Linked DNA regions of Homo sapiens: region 2 is linked to region 1. The links are contacts of gene promoters, found by promoter capture Hi-C in blood cells and fetal thymus (Javierre and others, 2016). All regions are on one chromosome and are shown on one strand. The core of a region is centred on a gene start or on the middle of the fragment in contact, and the rest is flanking DNA. Distances in the headings are between cores, read along the strand shown.

Region 1 (2,629 bases), core at 40-2,539:
GAAGAGCTCAGGGGCAGCCTTCAACTTCTTGGGTCAGATTCTTTACTGAAAACCCAGAGGCTGGGTTTCACTTTCTGCTTTCCCGCTTTTGTCGGTGTCTTTGTCTGGGCTTCTTCCAGGCCCCCTGCCTGGCCTGGGGTCAGAGGATCAATGGCTGCCTGACTGGCTGAAAGGGCTCCTCTATGGGGAGCAAGAAGCAAACTTCCAGAGGCAGAAGGGGTTCTCTTGTCCCTTTATGCGGAGGGCCATGTGCTAAGTTGAGGAAGCAAGCAAGTGTGCTCCTGTGTGTGGCTCTTAGTAGGACTGTGATCTCTGCTGAGTGAATGGAGGCGCTTGTGGGTCTACACATGCCTGCTTTTGTCTTCCACTGTAGAGGGCATGTAAGGAGCCCATTTCCTCCCTGATGTAGATGAAGCCACCCCAGCAGGCCCAGGCTGAAACAGCCCAGCTGGTCTTTCCCTTTATATGACTGCACCCCAGCCCCCAGAACTCTGGGAACTCACTGAGTTTCTTGAGGACTTTTTATTAGAATGAAAATAGCAGTGGCTTAGAACAGGCTTGCCTGACATTTGCAAAGAAGTGCTTTACTGACAAAGCCTATCCACTCTTTCCTCTCTCCCTCTGCCCCACCTTGAACCAGACACCCCGGGAAGCCCACAGCAGAAAAAGCTCTTGAGACCAGGAATAACTAACCAGAGTGTCATCTGAACACCTTTTCTGGGGCCAGGGTAATGAGAATTATTCAAATGCAATCATAAAAATGAGGCCAGCCAGGCAGGAAAAGGGGGAGGGGGAGTGCTGGTGGAAGGAAGGATTTCTTGCCCGTTTTAAGTTTCATCATTTCTGGGGAGTTCTCTTGGGGTCCACAGAAAATCTCACCTCATCTCGGTCCCCTCAGCACCGGTGATATCTTGGAACTCGGCCCCGGTTGTTCGCTAAGGAGGACTTGGCTTGGGGGCGGGAGGGTGCTCCAGAGTTCCTGGGGGTCCACCGCACTCCCCATCCGAGGCTCCTCGCGAGCGGAGCCGCTTCTCCAGGCCGCCCGCCTCCCTGCCGCAGGAGCAGGCCCGCGCCCGCCGCCCGAGAGCCTCCGGTAGAGGGAGACACTCCAGCGGCTCCTCCGACTTGGCAGCGGCCGGGCCGGGAGTGGGTGGGGGTGATGGGGGGTGGGGAGAAAAGGGGGAGTGGGGAGAGGGGAGGTGTGTGAAGGGGGGGTCCGGGGGGCGGGTCCCTGTGCCGCTGACGTCCCGAGCAGTGCTGGGAAGTATAGGCTGTGTTGTCACGCCGGTGTCAGTCTGATGAAGATTGGCATCAGGTAAGCTGTCATTCATTTCCATGTCAGAGACGCTTTTGCAGGCGGCGGCGGCGGCGCGGCGGCGGCTGCTGCTGCGGGCGGCTGCCTCAGAGCGCGTGTGTTTTATTCCAGTCCCCAAGCCAGAGTATTATTCATTGCGACAGGGCAAGGAGGAGAGAGGGAGAGAGGGAGGCAGCAGGGAGGAGAGAGAGGGAGGCAGCAGGGAGGAGGGAGGCAGGGAGCAGCGAGGGACGGCGGGAGCGTGCAGAGAGAAGCTGGGGAAGCGCCGGGAGAGCGCGGAGCGGAGCAGCGCGAGGGGCGGCGAGGCCGGGCACGGAGGCTGCGAGAGCCCCGCGGGCCGCCCGCTCCCCTGCCCGGCCAGCGCTCAGCCCCGCCGCCGCCGCCGCCGCCGCCTCGCCGCGCTTGGGCCCGTGGCCGGCCGCGCATTGTCCTCGGGTGCAAGGAGCCGGGCTGCGGACTCGAATCGCCGCGGGCCCAACCCCGTAGCGGGCGGGCGGGGAGCTGTGCGCCAGGAGCGCCAGGGGACCCGAGAATAGGAACAGGCACGCCGGCCCGAGCCCGGGTGCAGAAGGCTCCCGGCCGGGCGCTCCGCGGGGAGAGGCTGGGAACCGCGGGCAGGCTCCAGGTTCTCTTTCTCCCGGCTTCGGGCGTCCTTGGGGCCGGCGCTTACTCCGCGCCACCAGCCTGGAGATGCTTTCCAGCGGCTGGAGGCGGGAGCGGTCCCAGGCTGGGGCCAGGTGACCGGAGGAGTCGAGGAGCCGCGGCCGCGGCCTGGGGAGGCAGGGCGAATGAGGGTTTGCAGACGGATCAGTGGAGACAGGGGAACACCGGCGGGGCCCGGGAAGCCAGGATCCGAGGGGCTACACGCACGGACCCTCACCCAGGGAGGAGCGAGAATGTGTAGGGTCACCGGCTTTCCATGATTGCTGGGGATCTTTGGTGAGGCGGGCGTAGGGGCCCGCGCGAGGCTTGGGAATCGGGAGCCCTTCTGGCTCGAGAACTAGGGGATGAGTTCGTAAAAGAGGGAACTGAAAGCGATCGAGAGCGGAGAGCTGAGGGGGATGGCGCAGGATCCCGAATCTGCCGCTCAAAGTTTGCATTTCTTTCGGGTTAGGAGACGGGCTTTCCTGGCTCCCGATCCCCAGGAAGAAACGAGCGAAATGGGCCGTCCTTTCCCGGGGCTCTTCACGGGGGAGCCGGGGGTTTCCGCGCGGTGGGGAGACTCGGGTTGGGAATTGAGGGGTAGGGGCTTGTGGATCGGCCTGAATTAGGGCTGGGTTTTAGGACCAGTCTAGAGTTCGGTTTATAGGATCC
Region 2 (2,629 bases), core at 35-2,534, 160 kb after region 1:
GGGCTCCAGAGTGAGAACAGATGCTTTTTTAGGCTCTTGGGCCAACTGGGACAAAAAAGCTTGGTGTTTTATGCTCCTGAGATAGATACCAGAGTGGGGGTAACCTTCCCAGAGTGGACAGGGGACAAGTCTTTAGTTTGGGTCTCTGGCCACAGATTCCAGAGGCTCGGTCTTCACTTATCCAACTCATCTGCAAAAAGCCTAAGCACAAGTTGGCAAAACAGGCAAAGGTGATCTGTGGGGAAGCCAGCCCATGTCCATAGACGGGTCCAGTAGAATGAACTTGGATAGGCAGAGAGAGGCCTGTGGGAGCTACAGTGCTGGAGGTGGGGAGGTCGTGAGGACAGAGGAACTTTATCTTCAGTGTGAAGCTCTTGCTTCCTTTCTTGTTCCCTGAACCATCCGGGTCATTGGGTCACACAGCCCCGTGTCTTCCCATCCTTCCATTTCTCTCTGACTTTCTGTCTGCATCTGTGGCTTGGCCCTGCCTGCTGTGCTGCTTATTAGCTTTCAGAGAGGAAGAGCTCTGCATGGTGACAAAAAGGAGATTGTTGGGTCCCTCTGCCTGCAATCTAGAAAGGGGCACACAGCTTGAGTGTGGAGGGCAAGAGGAGGGTTGGAGACTGGGAGGATGGCCGCGGCCATCAGGGGTCTCCTCCTCCCTGCAGTCCTGGCTCTCTGTCATGTGAGTGGTCCCCCTTGTGCTTGGTGGAATTGCTGGCAGTGACAGGAAGGAGATTACAGACTGTATTTATGCCTTGTAGCTTTCTGTAGGCTGTTGGGAAACAAATGGAACTCGGCAGTTGTCAGTTCTGGGAAGGAGAATTCCAAGTGTATTGTAGCCCTGAAGCGGTGCCCTGTGTGAGGGCATGCTGGTGTCACCTCTGATCGTCCTTCCTCTCTCAAATGTGTGTTTTATTCCCTGAGTGGAGAACAGGGTCAGCTTCTTTCCCTAATATTGGAGTGATTCCTCTCTGAGTTGTAGCTCCTCTGTGTCGTCTTGGGGTGGGGGCAGCAGAGGCTCAGCTAGAGCAGAAAGACAAGGAACACATGGCTATGGCAGGATGTCGAAGGGAGCCCTGGAACCCCAGCACCAGGAGGGACACAATGAAAGAGACAGAGGCTGGAGGCCACACCAGGCAGGCAGGGCTTCCTCCCCTCCCCAGCCCTGACCCTGGCCCTGAGCCCTGCTCTGGCCATTGTGGGATCTGGAGGCTGACAGTCAGAAGCAGCATCACACACACATTGTAGGTGGCAATTATTTCTTTACCTTCTATTTTGCCCACTAGACTGTAAACACCTAGAAGACAGGGAGAGAGCGGGGGAGAGAGAGAGAAAGAGAGAGAGTGAGTGAGAGAGAGAGAGAGAGTGAGTGAGAGAGAAAGAGAGACAGAGACAGAGACAGATAGTATGTGTGTTGTGTCTTTGATGCCCAGGCCCCAGCACAAGGTAGATTCTTAATATATGGGGACTAAATTGAAGCAATTTGTACCTTCCCAGGTACAGGGCAGGAAGGAGTAGTAAAAAGCTACCAAAGAACAGATCTGTCATTTACCAAGTCAGCCTCAGACACCCGGAAAAGGCTGATGTTAGCAAAGCTCCCAGGATTGGCCCACCCCACCACTCAGGGCACAGCCGCCTCTGCCTCTCCTTCCGGGAGTGCAACATTAATTTAGCACTTACTACTGCAGGCACTCTCTTTGGATTGGTAAGAAATAGAAGGGCAAAGAGAAGCAGAGAGCTTGGGAGAACAAAATGTCTGGAGTCAGAAGACACGCCACTTGCTGGCTGTTTTCTTAGGCAAGCCCTGTGCTTGACTTTCCTAAGCCTCATTTTCCACATCTACAAAATAAGAGCAACTACCTGGCAAGGGAAAGGCATCTCTCATACGCTGCTGATAGGATGTAAATGGGTATGACCTTCCTGCAAGTAATTTGTAAAAATTCCTTAAGACGAACACACCTTTGGACTTGGCAATTCCACATCCAGAAACTTATCCTAAGAAAATGATCAAGTCTGGAGCAAGAGTCCACTGCAAGAATAGTCATTATGTGTTTATAATAGCAAAAACTGGAAATAATCTAAACAACAAATGTGAAGAATTTGTCTGAGTAATTATAGTATACCCATAAATGGAATGCCATAATCATTAAAATTATAATATATTTTCCTCCTACATGAAAAGGTGTTTATGATATGTTGTTAAATACAAAAGGCTATTTAGTGAACAGTATGAAAATATGATACTGCTTTTAAAAAAGAAGCATTTTACTCCAAATATTAACTGTAGCTTATATTTGTATTGTAGGATTGCTACTAACTTAACATTTTTCCTCTTATTTGTCTATTTTTTACAAGAAGCATTTGCTATTTTTTAAAGGTAACAAAATCATCATATTAAAATACCTACTTTTAAAGGTTGTTTTAAGAGTTAAAGAAGATATTACACATGAAAGTACTTTGTGAACTGAAAAAATTATACAGATTTAAGATAGGACTTCTGCCCATGAGAAGCTTATAGTTTGGAAGGAGATGAAAGATATCTAAGATAACCATAGCATGAGACAGGATGTGACTAGAGCTTTCAGAGAATGACAAGCAGCATGTTATTTGGAAGCACAGAGGAGGA

The links. The method cuts DNA at HindIII sites, captures the fragments that hold promoters and counts their contacts. A CHiCAGO score of 5 or more calls a contact.
Region 2: a fragment that was not itself captured here is called in contact with the fragment with the promoter of PKNOX2 in region 1 in 2 of 17 cell types (endothelial precursors and M2 macrophages); the score reaches 7.3 in endothelial precursors.

What each region holds. Positions count from the first base shown.
Region 1 is chr11:125,163,462-125,166,090 of GRCh38, forward strand. It overlaps PKNOX2 (PBX/knotted 1 homeobox 2), which reads left to right and starts at 1,290. Exons shown (of 13, transcript NM_001382323.2): 1 at 1,290-1,315. It overlaps PKNOX2-DT (PKNOX2 divergent transcript), which reads right to left and starts at 1,148. Exons shown (of 3, transcript NR_125759.1): 1 at 880-1,148. RefSeq lists a silencer at 1,003-1,152. The HindIII fragment of the contact is 6,114 bases long and covers 1-2,629 here.
Region 2 is chr11:125,327,011-125,329,639 of GRCh38, forward strand. All of the region lies in intron 2 of PKNOX2 (PBX/knotted 1 homeobox 2), which reads left to right. Among named protein-coding and RNA genes, the nearest start is that of PKNOX2-AS1, 62 kb to the left of the region's middle. The HindIII fragment of the contact is 2,455 bases long and covers 58-2,512 here.